Regions from separate parts of the Homo sapiens genome. Here region 1 is linked to region 2. Evidence: promoter capture Hi-C in 16 types of primary human blood cells and fetal thymus (Javierre and others, 2016). All regions are on one chromosome and are shown on one strand. Each heading gives the region's core, a stretch centred on a gene start or on the middle of the fragment in contact. The rest is flanking DNA. Distances are from core to core; before and after follow the strand shown. Region 1 holds the start of LINC00525 (long intergenic non-protein coding RNA 525). Region 2 overlaps TNS3 (tensin 3).

Region 1 (6,499 bases), core at 2,434-4,933, 270 kb after region 2:
GTTAGGGGCACACTTTGGGGGAAGTTACTTAGTCTTTTGATACCTTAGTTTCCTCTGCTGTAAAATGAAGAAAACATCATATACTTGGCAGTTGAAATAAACATTGGAAAATTTTATAAAACATCTGAAAGTGCCCAGGAATGGAGACTGTCATCAGAAATGCTTTTTCCACTAAGTGTCTCATGGCACTCCTGTTTGCAGGCGCGGCGGCTCCTCCCCACAGTCAGGCACGCTCGCCCACACTGCATCAGAACATCTTGTTCCTGCAGGATGGCCCAGCCCTTCGCTGGCTGCCCTGCCGGCCACGGGACCGAATCACCATCACTCTCACCCACAAAGCTGCTTTTGGAATGCAGGCATTTCATGGTGTGGGAAGACAGTATTTTTACACTTTTCTCAGAAATTGGTCAAATTCTTTTTGCTCCCTGCTATTTTTCCCCTTCTCCCTCTCCCCTTTCCCTTTTCTTCATTCCAGCAATAGCTAGATCTCTACTGCACCCGAGAAAGGACATGACAGTGGCAAAGCAAAACAGTAAACAATCAACAACAAAACTCCTGAGCCCAGCTGGCTTTGATTTCCCAAAGCAAATCAGTCAAGTAATTAAGAAGGCATGAGAAAAACAGAAACACACACACACAATCTTTACTACCTGTGGGGAGGATTGTGAGGGAAAAAGAAAAATATATTCCTCTGTACCCCATGGGTTATGGAAGGAAGTGACAGATGTGAGGAGTGTGTGAGAGACAGAGACAGAGAGACAGAGACAGAGATAGAGAGACAGAGAGACAAAGACAGGAGGGACAGAGACAGACAGAGGAAGACAGACACAGAAATAGAAAGAGAGACAGAACAGAGAGAGACAGGCATAGACAGAAGTGTCTCCTGAGGTTGGGCCTCTGAGTCCTGCTCTCTGGGGAGTACTCTAGAAAAATGGCAAGATCTCAGGGACCTTGGTGTGTAGATGACTGATCGCCAAAGCAGGAGCTCTGGTCTTAGGCCAGATACACTGAAGCAGCCAAAGAGTCAAGTTTCCCTCTGGGCCGTGCCCTGGGGGTGCAGGGGTATATGAAAAGCTGCAGCTGGGTGCAGTGTTCCTCTAGGGCTCAGGAGAAGTGACAGACAGAGAGCCCAGGAAGCACCCACAGCCTGGGCCTGGCGCGTCCATTGGTGTGACCAAGACCTACATACAGAAAGGTGAAGGTGCACAATGAACTCAGACTTTATCTGAATAGGGGTAAGATCCATTTCAAAATTGGAAGTGGGGCTGATTTGAAAGAATCTATTTTATGAGGATAAACTGATGATGAGATAAATTCTATAGATAGGGTTTTCCTTGACTTCTAAGAGAATAGATACACAGAAGGTAATTATTGAGTTAGAGTTGTCTTTTGTTTCTAAGAAAATGATAAGACAATTTATATTTTTCACAGCCTTGCTTTCTTGCTCCACCAGGGGTCACAGCTGATCTTACACATTTCGGGGTGTGGGCACAACTTCACCACTCTTCCAGGGACCAATGTAAAGCCACCCTGGCACCACCCTTTGCTTACTGAAGATTCCCCCACCAAATCCACGTGCTACCTGTGCCTCATCCATCACTGGTTAATTACTCTGATTAAAATAAAGCAGTGATTTGATGTTTCCAAGGAGCTTCATTAGAATGAGAAAAAATTATATTTACCAAGGAAAGGAGGAAATGGTTGAATAAAAAATATGACAAGTAATTTAATTTTAGGTCAATGAATGCTCCACTGTGATTCAATTCTGACACATGAAACAAATAATGAGATGATCAAGCCCTCTTCTTCCTTGCAGAAACTCGCTAATCCATATGAATGGTCTGTTGTTCACGAGCATCTGGTTCCCTTAACAACCTGTGGCCTGTTTACTCCATGGGGAGAATCTGGTCCTCAGAGCAGCTTTAGGGTCCATGCACCTTACTGGACATCCATAATGCACCACAGAGTGTGGTGCAGCAATATGCCATGTGAGGATTTTTTAATCCTTGAAAAGTTGGGTGAAGAGGATAAGATTTTTCGTATAAGATAATACAGGCTTCAAAAAGTTGGAAAAAGAGCACATTTAGAAAGTCCCAGAGCTGGGATTTGAACCCCTGTGCTTCTGATTCTAAATTGCTTCCCACCACGCTCATGGTGACCTCTAGAAGGTGTTAGTGAGGTGGAGATGTACCCGGTAATCCTGCCAGTGCATCTGTGCACTGATTCTCTATTGCTGGCTGTCCTTCTTGGCATCTTATTCAACAATAGCTACTGTAAGGGGGGAAATAGTCTTATATTTTGTGAAAGAACTCAAATGGCCAATTCATATATGGCCAGTTTACTTAAGAATGAATTACCGACCGGGCACAGTGGCTCATGCCTGTAATCCCAGCACTTTGGGAGGCTGAAGCGGGTGGATCCCCTGAGGTCAGGAGTTTGAGACCAGCCTGGCCAACATGGCAAAACCTCATCTCTACTAAAAATACAAAAATTAGCCGGGTGTGGTGGCTGGCACCTAAAATCCCAGCTACTTGGGAGGCTGAGGCAGAAGAATTGCTTGAACCCAGGGGGCGGAGGTTGCAGTGAGCCCAGATTGTGCCACTGCACTCCAGGCTGGGCAACGGAGCAAAAACAAAAAACAAAAAAGAATGAATTACCAGGCTCTAAAAACCTATCAGTAAGCTTTTTTTTTTTTTTTTTAAAGACGGAACTTGATGCTAAGGAAATTGCAACAACACAATGTCCTAATACACTGTTGACAAGATTAAAAAATTTTTTATTTTTAATTTTTGTGGGTACACAGTAGGGGTATATATTTATGGGGTACGTGGGATGTTTTAATACAGGCATGCAATGTGAAATAGGCACATCATGAAGAATGGGGTATCCATACCCTCAAGCATTTATTCTTTGTGGTATAAACAATCCAATTATACTTTTAATTATTTTAAAATGTACACTTAAATTATTATTGACTATAGTCTCCCTGTCGTGCTATCAAATAGTAGGTATTATTCATTCTTCTATTTTTTTTTTTGGTACCCATGAACCATTCCCACCTTATCTCCCCAGTCCTCTACTATCCTTTTCAGCCTCTGGTAATCATCCTTCCTATTCTCTATGTCCATGATTTCAATGGTTTCGATTTTTAGATCCCACAAATAAGTGAGAACATGTGATGTTTGTCTTTCTGTGCCTGGCTTATTTCACTTAACATAATGTCCTCCAGTTTCGTTCCATCCATGTTGTTGCAAATGACAGGATCTCATTCTTTTTATGGCTGAATAGTACTCCATTGTGTATATGTACCACATTTTCTTTATCTGTTCATCTGTTGATGGACTGTAAATTTGCTTCTAAGTCTTAGCTATTGTGAACAGTGCTGCAACAAACATGGGAGTGCAGATATCTCTTCAATATACTGATTTCCTTCCTTTTGGGTATAGACCCAGCACTGGGATTGCTGGATCATATGCTAGTTCTATTTTTAGTTTTTTGAGGAACCTCCCAACTGTTCTCCATAGTGGTTGTACTAATTTACATTCCCACTAACAATATACTAGTGTTCCCTTTTCTCCACATCCTCACCAGCATTTGTTATTGCCTGTCTTTTGGATAAAAGCCATTTTAACTGGGGTGAGATATCTCATTGTAGTTTTGATTTGCATTTCTCTGATGATCAGTGACGATGACCACCTTTTCATATGCCTGTTTGCCATTTGTAAGTCTTCTTTTGAGAAATATCTATTCATTTCTGATTTTTTATTTGGATTACTAGATTTTGATTTCTGATTGGATTACTAGATGTTTTCCTGTTGAGTTGTTTGAGCTCCTTATATATTCTGGTTATTAATTCCTTGTCAGATGGGTAGTTTGCAAATATTTTCTCCCATTCTGTGGGTTGTTTCTTCACTTTAAGAAGATCATTAATTGCCTTAATCATTCTAAAAAGTGATTTGGCAAATAAGGGTTGAATTGTGTCCCCCAAAATGTCTATGTCCAAGTCCTAACCCCTAGTACCTCAGAATGCAACTGCATTTGGAAACAGGGTTTTTGAAAATGTGATCAAATTAAAATGAGGTTATACTAGAGTAGAGTGGGCATGTAATCCAATATGACTCATCCAATATGACCGGTGTCCTTATAAAGAAGAGGAGATTTGGCTGGGCATGGTGGCTCATGCCTGTAATCCCAGCACTTTGGGAGGCCGAGGTGGGTGGATCACCTGAGGTCAGGAGTTCAAGACCAGTCTGGCCAACATGGAGAAACCCTATCTCTACTAAAAATACAAGAAAAAAAAATAGCTGGGCATGGTGGCAGGCACCTGTAATCCCAGCTACTTGGGAGGCTAAGGCAGCAGAATCGCTTGAACCCGGGAGGCAGAGGTTGCAGTGAGCCGAGATTGCGCCATTGCACTCCAGGCTGGGCAACAAGAGTGAAACTCCATCTCAAAAAAAAAATTAATAAATACATAAAAAATAATAAAAAGGGGAAATTTGGACCCAGACATGCCTGGAGGGAAGATGATGGGAAGAGACACAGAGAGAAGATGGTTGTCCTCAAGCCAAGGAGAGAGGCCTGCAACAGATTCTCCTTCAGCCTTTAGAAGGAACAACACTGCCAACACCTTGATCTTAGACTTCTGTCCTCCAGAAATTGTGAGACAATGCATTTTTGTTGTTTAAGGCAACCAATTTGTGGAACTTTGTTCTGGCAGCCCTAGCAAATGAATACAACAAAATATATACTGTATTGAGAACCTTAATATTGGCAATACCATTTGCACAGGAACTCCTTGCCTTTGGTTGCCACCTAAGAAATCATGCATATGGACATGGAATTACACATAAAGTATATTTAGCTAGTTTTTCTTCAACATGCTATTGCAGGAGGACAATTCAAAAATCTTTCCAACTCCCACCTGATTTCTGAAGGTTCTCTGGGAGCCTGCGCATCAGCCATCAAAACACACTTGTCACATTTTTCTTTCCTTTTGGCCTCCTTTAGTGAAGTCAGCTGCCTGAGGCTGGGCGGAGGTGCTCAGCACTCCCTCTGGTTTGTGGGGGGCTGGGGTGGGTCACACTTATTCTACTGGATATCACTGTTCCTGGGCCCTGCCACCACTCTCAGCCCTGGTGCTGTGGATTCTGTTCATGAGAGGGGCTGAAGTCAAGCCTCCCTCTCAGGCCCAGATCTGAGTCTACAGGTCAGCCGGGGCTGGGGCCTCACGGTAGCAGGTGGTGACAGAGGACATGTCATTGTCGCAGTCACTGAGGACACTGGTTCTCATAGCCCAGCCTCTGTGCCTGGACCTCAGCTATAGGCCTGGCCCCATTGTGCTCTCCCTGATGAGAATCTCCAGGCCTTGAGCTACCTGACTCTTCCCAGTTGGCCAGACACATCCCAGTGAATGATCATCATCCTGCTCTCATCTCATAGCCAGCTGATCAGTCTGTTCACCCTCCACCTACTCAAGTACAGAGTGACACACCCCAAGCAACAATCGCATGAGAAATTCTACCACCTGGGGAGGGCAGAACTGGGACAGACTTCTTTCATTTTCTGATCTGCTTTTGCCAGATGTCCTCTGTAGCAAGAGGCAGGACAAACAGTGAGGACTGCACCAACACTCACCGGGTGACCCCTTTGCTTTGGAAACTTACTCAGGGTGAAAGGAATTCCGATTTTAAACAGCATCTCTTTGTGTGGCCTGTTTGAGGCACCACACAGAGCTTGCTGGAGCAGCTCTGTTGACCGCTGACCCTTGGCCTGCTAACTGAAACAAGGTGAGTATTTCTAAGGCTGTCGTGGCCACGGGAGGACCGGAGAATAAATGTGGACCTATTTACATTCTCTTTTCCCTGAAGGTGATAAATGGCTTCCCCCATCCAAACCAGGCCCCTCTAGGGCCTTTATTTGCTATTCTGGTTTTAAAAGGCAGACGGAGAATGTATTGAGTTATCTTTCAACTGTTTACTAGCAGAAGGGCAAAGATCAGATTACCAGCTCAGAGTGATTCATCTTTTCTCCCAAATCAAAGCCATATGTACACAGAGTCTGTGTACACATTAGTTCATTTCATTCATTCATCTAGGTCAGGAGAGGGAGACCTGGGACAAAGGTCCCGCAGAAAGAGATGGAGGCATCAGGCCACAGACAGTGAGCAGCATGGGTTTTTCTCTGCCTCCACATTAGGACTTTAATGTTTTTTTTTTTTGTTTAAAAAAAACAAAACTGCCTGATTTCCTGTCAGGCCAACTAATGATGTTTTTTCCCCAGGTTTCTGGTATAGAGGATGTTTTAATTTGAGAGAAGTTTCCACCTACAAAAACACATATTTGTCCGGGCATGGTGGCTCACGCCTGTAATCCCAGCACTTTGGGAGGCTGAGGCAGGAGGATCATGAGGTCAAGAGATCTAGACCATCCTGGCCAACATGGCGAAACCCCGTCTCTACTAAAAATAAAAAAATTAGCTGGGCATGGTGGCGCATGACTGT
Region 2 (6,511 bases), core at 3,012-5,511:
CACCACATGAAGCAAGCACTGCCCAGCCAGCTCACGAATCCATCACAGCTTGTTGGTTTCAGCCACTGAGTGTACAGGGGATTTGTTAGGCAACAACAGAGAACAGAAATAGTGTGCCCAGCAATGCGCACAGCCCCAGCATGCCCAGACGAGTGTGTTGGGCACCAGAATGCCATCCTTCAGTGCTCTGTGTCGGGAAGTAGAGGAAAGGGGCTCAAAATCAGCACTTGAAAAAGCCAACAGCAGCAATGAGGCCATGAGCTGTCACAGATGAGGAGATTTCAGCCGCCGATGGTGGGGGCAAGAGGCCGACAGAGCGCGGCTGTGGCTTCAGCACGAGGCGGGCAGACATGACCCAGGACACTAGCCAGTGGGCAGAGAGGCAGAGGGGCAGCCTCTCGTCCATCTACGCTGCGATTCACCAAAAAATGCATCAGGCTGAACATGCACGGTATGTGGTGTTCTTGAATGTAAGCTTCGGTTTTAAACAAATATGTATTTTAAACCATATATATACTGTTTCAAGCCCCAGAGTGACTGGACAGAACCGAAAAAGCTCTGTCTTTGCATCCAGAGACTGAAATTAGGGCAAGCCCTCTGCTTCTCCCAGCTGGCTCTGATGAATTTACGGAGACTGTCCTCTGTGAACTCAATTTTCCTCCTCATCTGTGACATAGGGATAATACGACCTCGCGGGGTGGATGTGAACCTCAAGCTCATAGGAAAGTCTTGACAGTGGGACTATATCAAATATACACTGTCAGATTGGAGTGAGGGTGAAAGGGGACCCCACGGCCTTTCAAAGACAGCAGCATAGTTACCGAAGGCCATCTCAGTCGGCCATACAGACTTTGCCTCTCTCCTGAAACACGAACTCCATATTTTTCAGACTAGGCATTTCCTGGACAATTTTCTGATGATGAGGCTGCAGCAATGAGACTGATTCATGATAATACTTAACCAGGGGCAAAACAGACATGTCCCTCGCCCCGTCCTGTTCACCTGAAGGAAGGCAGGGAGGAACCACTGCCCAAGACCATAGGCCTGAGTGGGACGGTGAAACCCGAGAGTCATGTCCTACAGAGATGGCCCCGGGTGTATGTTGATGTGTGCATGGCCCCATCAATCACAGCCAGTTCCTGAGAGCGATCCTACAGGCTCCTGGAAGGACGGGTCCAGATGCCATGCCTGACACCATGAACATTCTAAAACACTCAACTGGTAGTCTAAGCAAATGAAGGAACGCTTTTTGATTTTGCTTTGATTTATTCATGTTTAACATACAAGTTAAAATACCTGACTCTGAAGAAGCTGTAGGGGCCTACTGAGTGGGGACCTTAACTATTGGCACCAGAAATGGCTCCCTTTCCAACTGTGTGCCAGTGACTCCTAATCCCACTCACGAATGACAGGGAGTCATCATCTCATGTCCACCCTACACTGGCTTTCTGTCATGGCTCTGGCCACCCCACAGTGGGGGCAGCCCCTCACCACAGCTCTCTGTTTGGCCAGCAGCAGGAAGGCTGGGTTTGGAGCCCATGTGCCTGGTGCGCAGGCCTTCATGGAGGACACAGCCGCATATCGGCAGGCTGCCCTGCCTGCCGCACGGTAGACTCCAGGGCCTGGCACTGTCAGCTCCCCACACCTGATCTCTTCTTATCCTCTTTCCTCACCTGCAGCCAACATAGTCCAGGCTCAACTCCCTTGCCTAACCCTACCTCCCACCTGTGAGCCTCAGCCCAGGCTGCTCCCTCTGCCTGGAAAACCACCTGCCCACCTCCTACTGGGCAGGTGCCTGTGCCTCAAGGCCCAGTGGCAAGGCCCCTTCTTCAGGAGACACACAAATAAGATGTGCTTTTATTTCTGCTTCAAGAGAAGAGCACAGAAATGTTATGACCCTCTGCTCCTGTGATTTTGTAATATCCTCTTCTTATTTTAAAGGAAAAGGTCCAAGGAGGCAGTAACACTAAAACAAAGCACAGTTTTCCGAGGCTTTTAAAATGAGGGGTGGGCCCCACATCCACCAGGGAGCAGGCAAGCAGGTGTTTGTATTTTCAACCACGCCAGCCTCATGCTGAGAAAGGCGGGGTTCCGGACATGGAGCTCTGGAGCAGGAGGAGCTCCCACTGCCTGTGAGAGCCAAGGCCCGTTCATCAGGACGGCACTGAGCTCACAGGGAGCAGAGCCTCGGGCGATGACATCAGCTAATGCCACCCCCAGCTCCTGCTTCTTGGGGGTCTGTGGCATCTGAGGTTTCCATATGAAATCAATAGCAGGCTCTTCATATCAAGCCCTGGCTTCCACTGACCTGTTGCTAATGACAAGGCAGAGGAAGTGGTCACCCCTAGGGAGGGGATGCCCAGATCTCGAATAAAACCACCCTCCAGAGTGAAGCGCAGAGCTCTGACAGTCAATGTTCAGTGGTCATCCGTAAAGAAAAGGAATAGCACAAATAAGTGAGCTGGTCACTTCGCCAGACTTTGGGTCAGTTGTCTCAACCTCTCATTCATTCATTCATTGCAGAATGGCATATCAAATATCACACTTCGGGGCACTCGGAGATGAGAAAGAATTAGCAGTTGCCTTCGAAATTCAGTTTAAAATGGAAGAAAAGGTATAAACATACAACAGTTATTCAGGGAAGAAAATGGTAAATTCCACAAAGGTAGGCACCAGAGAAATTTTCCCTGAAATACATTTTGGCAAGAGTGTTTAACAATCACATGATGAACAGTTTGGGTTTTACCAACTGTCCTTTGCTCTAAAGAAGGCTGACAAGAGGCCGGGCGCGGTGGCTCACACCTGTAATCCCAGCACTTTGGGAGGCCAAGGCGGGTGGATCACGAGGTCAGGAGATCGAGACCATCCTGGCTAACACGCTGAAACCCTGTCTCTACTAAAAATACAAAAAAAAAAAAAAAAATAGCCGGGCATGGTGGCGGGCGCCTGTAGTCCCAGCTACTTGGGAGGCTGAGGCAGGAGAATGGCATGAACCCAGGAGGCGGAGCTTGCAATGAGCCGAGATCGCGCCACTGCACTCCAGCCTGGGCAACAGAGCGAGACTCCGTCTCAAAAAAAAAAAAAAGCTGACAAGAAAAGAAAACATGAGAAACCCTAAGAGCTCACAACTTATCAAATCTTTTAAAATTAAGCATTGAGCTGCAAATGGCCAACTGGCCAACTCTAATGTCCACATAAGCATATTTCATGAAACCCAAACTAGTTCCTGCTGGTCTGAAGCTAAACTGCCACCCCTGTTCACAAAATCTTGATAATGGCATTCCATTTAACTCTAATGTCCACATAAACATATTCCATGAAACCTAAACTGGTTCCTGCAGGTCTAAAGCTAAACTTCCACCCCTGTTCACAAAATCCTGCCAGTGGCATTCCTCTCTGCCCAGTGTCTCAAATTCAAAACCTAAGGATTACTCACAAGCCGTGCCTCTGACCCACCGGGTGGGTATGCCAATCCTAACAGGTCTACCTTTAAAATGCCCACAAGTCTACTTCCTACTGACCCCACCCATTGTTCAAGGTTGGGCCACTCCAGCTCTTGCTGGGCAGTGCTAAGCTTTCTAACCAACCTCCTGAGGTTCAATCGACTCCCCTCCAAATGCTTTTTAGAAGTAAAGAAACCTCTGAAAAAGCGAAAGGTTTTAGATAAAGATTCTGAAAGCAGAATTTCTCACATCACAGTATTGCAACCATTCAGCCATTCTATCCACTCCACCTCCCCTGAAAGACACAGTTGTGAGTTTGTTATTCTAAAGACCTTCTGAACAGGGGGCAGTTTCCAGTGATAAGGGAGGGTTAACAGCTCAGATCCTTGCACACCGCTTTATTAAGAACAGAAAGGAAGCCTGCGGGCTTCGGAAAGTTCCAGGGTAATTTGGAGTTGAGGGTGCACAGACACACACACAGTGCGCAGAAAGGCAGGAGTTGAAATGCCTAGAAACACACAAAAATGAACTCCGCCAGCTGCTCCCGGGAGGCGGAGAGAGGGCGCCCCGCGAGCTATTTCTGTGCTTGACAGAAAATGGGAGTAGGCACTTCCTGAATCCCTGCCTAAAATTAACTGCTTTACAAAAGGGGGGAAGGGGAAACCCATGGTGAAACAAGTTTTATTTTACAATTCAAAATCTGGAGGTGGGGATTTGAATGCTTCGTTATGGGTTTTGGCCCCGCTGATAAAAATGTGGCTGAAAAAAAGAAGAAATGGGGGCTTCACTAGGAAACCTACCCTTCAGAAGTAGCCCCACAAAAATAAAGCCAGCGGTTTGATTAGAAACGTTCTTCTCCCCGGCGCCTGTAGTCCCAGCTACTCGGGAGGCTGAGGCAGGAGAATAGCGTGAACCCGGGAGGCGGAGCTTGCAGTGAGCCGAGATTGCGCCACTGCACCCCAGCCTGGGCGACAGAGCCAGACTCCGTCTCAAAAAAAAAAAAAAAAAAAAAGAAACGTTCTTCTCCCCATGGAACGTGAAGCCATGTCTCAATGAGAGGCATGAAGGCGCATGCACAGCAACACTGGTGCAGTCGCCAGAGAGCACAGGCTTCAGTGCCGCACATCAACTAAGTGCCTGTCCTGTGGTCTAGGGGGCTGAGACTCATGGACACACACGCTGACAACATGAGAGGGCAGCGTCTGGGGCAGGGGCTGCACGAGACAGAGTGGGGTATCTGGAAGTATGGTGGGCACAGGGCCACGACCCCCGCCCTGAGGACGAGGCCTGCAGAGGTCTCTCCTAGCCTGACAGGGATGGTTATGTCCCAACAGGGGCGGGCTTCCAACACCTCTCCCAGCCTGAACTCAGGCTCTGGAAGACCTGAGTCTGAACGGGCCATAGAGAGGTCTCAGGAACAAGATCCCACTGGGAACCTACACTCAGAGCCAGAATGCAGTCTCCCAGCCAGAGCCAGGGCCCAGGACTGCCAGAAAGTCCCGGAGATAAGCTTCTGCAGAGATGACATTGCTAGATGCCAGGGTGGGTGGCATCCATGTGGAAGAATGACTGTAGTAGAAATTTTAAAAAGATGCACTGCATATGGTGTCTAAACATTGAAAGAGAACAGGCCGTTCTGCAGCTCCCCAACTGCAGCACACCTTCCTCCTCCATCTCGGCAGAGGGAAGGGGTAAGGACAGACCACTCAGGAGAGCAGTGGACGAAACCACACACATTATGACAAGTGGATTTCTAACCTGGACAGAGCCAGAGGCAGGGTCAGAGAGGAAGAGCTGTGATCCAGAAGGAGCACACGGTGCCACAGGGCTGGGGAGAGGCCCCGATGCCACCCAGCCCAGAAGCCCAGAGGTGAAGAGGCCCTGGATTGAGGAGAGGAGAGGACCCCAGTGAGCCTGGAGGAGGGGTGACAGGATAATGGGAGGAAGCATACATTATAGACTCTGAGCAGTTCAAAAACTGAATGGTGGTCTGAAAAAAGGGGTAGTAAGATAAGCACGTCAAAAAAGGACATCACTGAACAGGATGTGAGCTCACACAGGGGAATACAGAGTTTGGGGTCTTCTAGAAAGGGGCCAAGGGCTCCTGCAGATGGCAGCCAGAGTCAGCAGAAAGAGCACCTGGGGCCACATGTGTGGAAGGAGGGACGTTTCCCCTGTGACCAGAGCTGATGGGCAGGAGGTGCTGGAGCCAAATGGCATTTTCAGGAGTGTTTCAAGCTGATTAATGTCAGGCTGGTAGCTTGGAAGCAGGCGGGGGGAGGTGAGGTATTTTCACCAGGGGAATCAGCAGAGGCTGCCAATCAGCCCGCTGCACCCCCAGCAGGGTATAAACCCTCATCTGCACACCACCGGCCAGAACGTGTTTCAAGAGAAGCGGGAGTAAAAGCGATGGTGGCCAACGCAAACAGAGTCTGAGTGGGAGAGTCCACGCACACGCAGTACAGAACGCCAGGCACAGGTGAGAGAGGCGGAGGGCTGGGGATGCATCTGTACCTGCTCGTCAGGGGCTTGTGGGAAATCACATCAGAAGTCCAAGACCAAGCAGGCAGGGACACCTGCAGCACCCAGCTCTGCCCTAGGCCCAGATACCCTGGCTGCAGCGATGTGGGCCAGGACTACGGAAGTCCTCTGTGGGGTGAGCCAAGGCAGGGTGAGCCTGTGCAAATGCAGGAGGCTGGGGGGAGTAGAAAGAAGGGCAGCCAGTCAGGGGAAAGGTCACAGAGCTGGCCAGAACCAAGGCAGCATCGAGCAAGAGGCACTTGGATTCCAGTGTCAGAAAATATTAAGCCCACGGCTCTGCCATTAGCCATATGGAACCACTTTCAGGTGGGCCTCAGGCTAAGTCTGAGGCACTAATTAAGCCCACTAAATGGAATTTGTTTGCTTAAAAGAGCAGACCCCATTCTCAGAAGAAAATTTAGAAAATATATATACTTTCTTGTCATTTAACAGTTAATAAATAAAATGCATAGTGATTTATGCTAGCGGTAGGCAACATTTCATGAAATAAATCTACTAGCGTCAGTACCACAACTGCAGAAAGAGTA

Evidence for each region. The method cuts DNA at HindIII sites, captures the fragments that hold promoters and counts their contacts. A CHiCAGO score of 5 or more calls a contact.
Region 1: the fragment with the promoter of LINC00525 here is called in contact with a fragment that was not itself captured in region 2 in 6 of 17 cell types (total B cells, naive B cells, M1 macrophages and 3 more); the score reaches 17.9 in total B cells.

Annotation. Positions count from the first base shown.
Region 1 is chr7:47,757,793-47,764,291 of GRCh38, forward strand. It overlaps LINC00525 (long intergenic non-protein coding RNA 525), which reads left to right and starts at 3,684. Exons shown (of 3, transcript NR_038407.1): 1 at 3,684-3,721; 2 at 5,581-5,786. The HindIII fragment of the contact is 4,383 bases long and covers 2,681-6,499 here.
Region 2 is chr7:47,490,757-47,497,267 of GRCh38, forward strand. The region is part of intron 3 of TNS3 (tensin 3); the gene reads right to left. Among named protein-coding and RNA genes, the nearest start is that of SNORD151, 29 kb to the left of the region's middle. RefSeq lists enhancers at 2,833-3,424, 6,491-6,511. The HindIII fragment of the contact is 1,379 bases long and covers 3,573-4,951 here.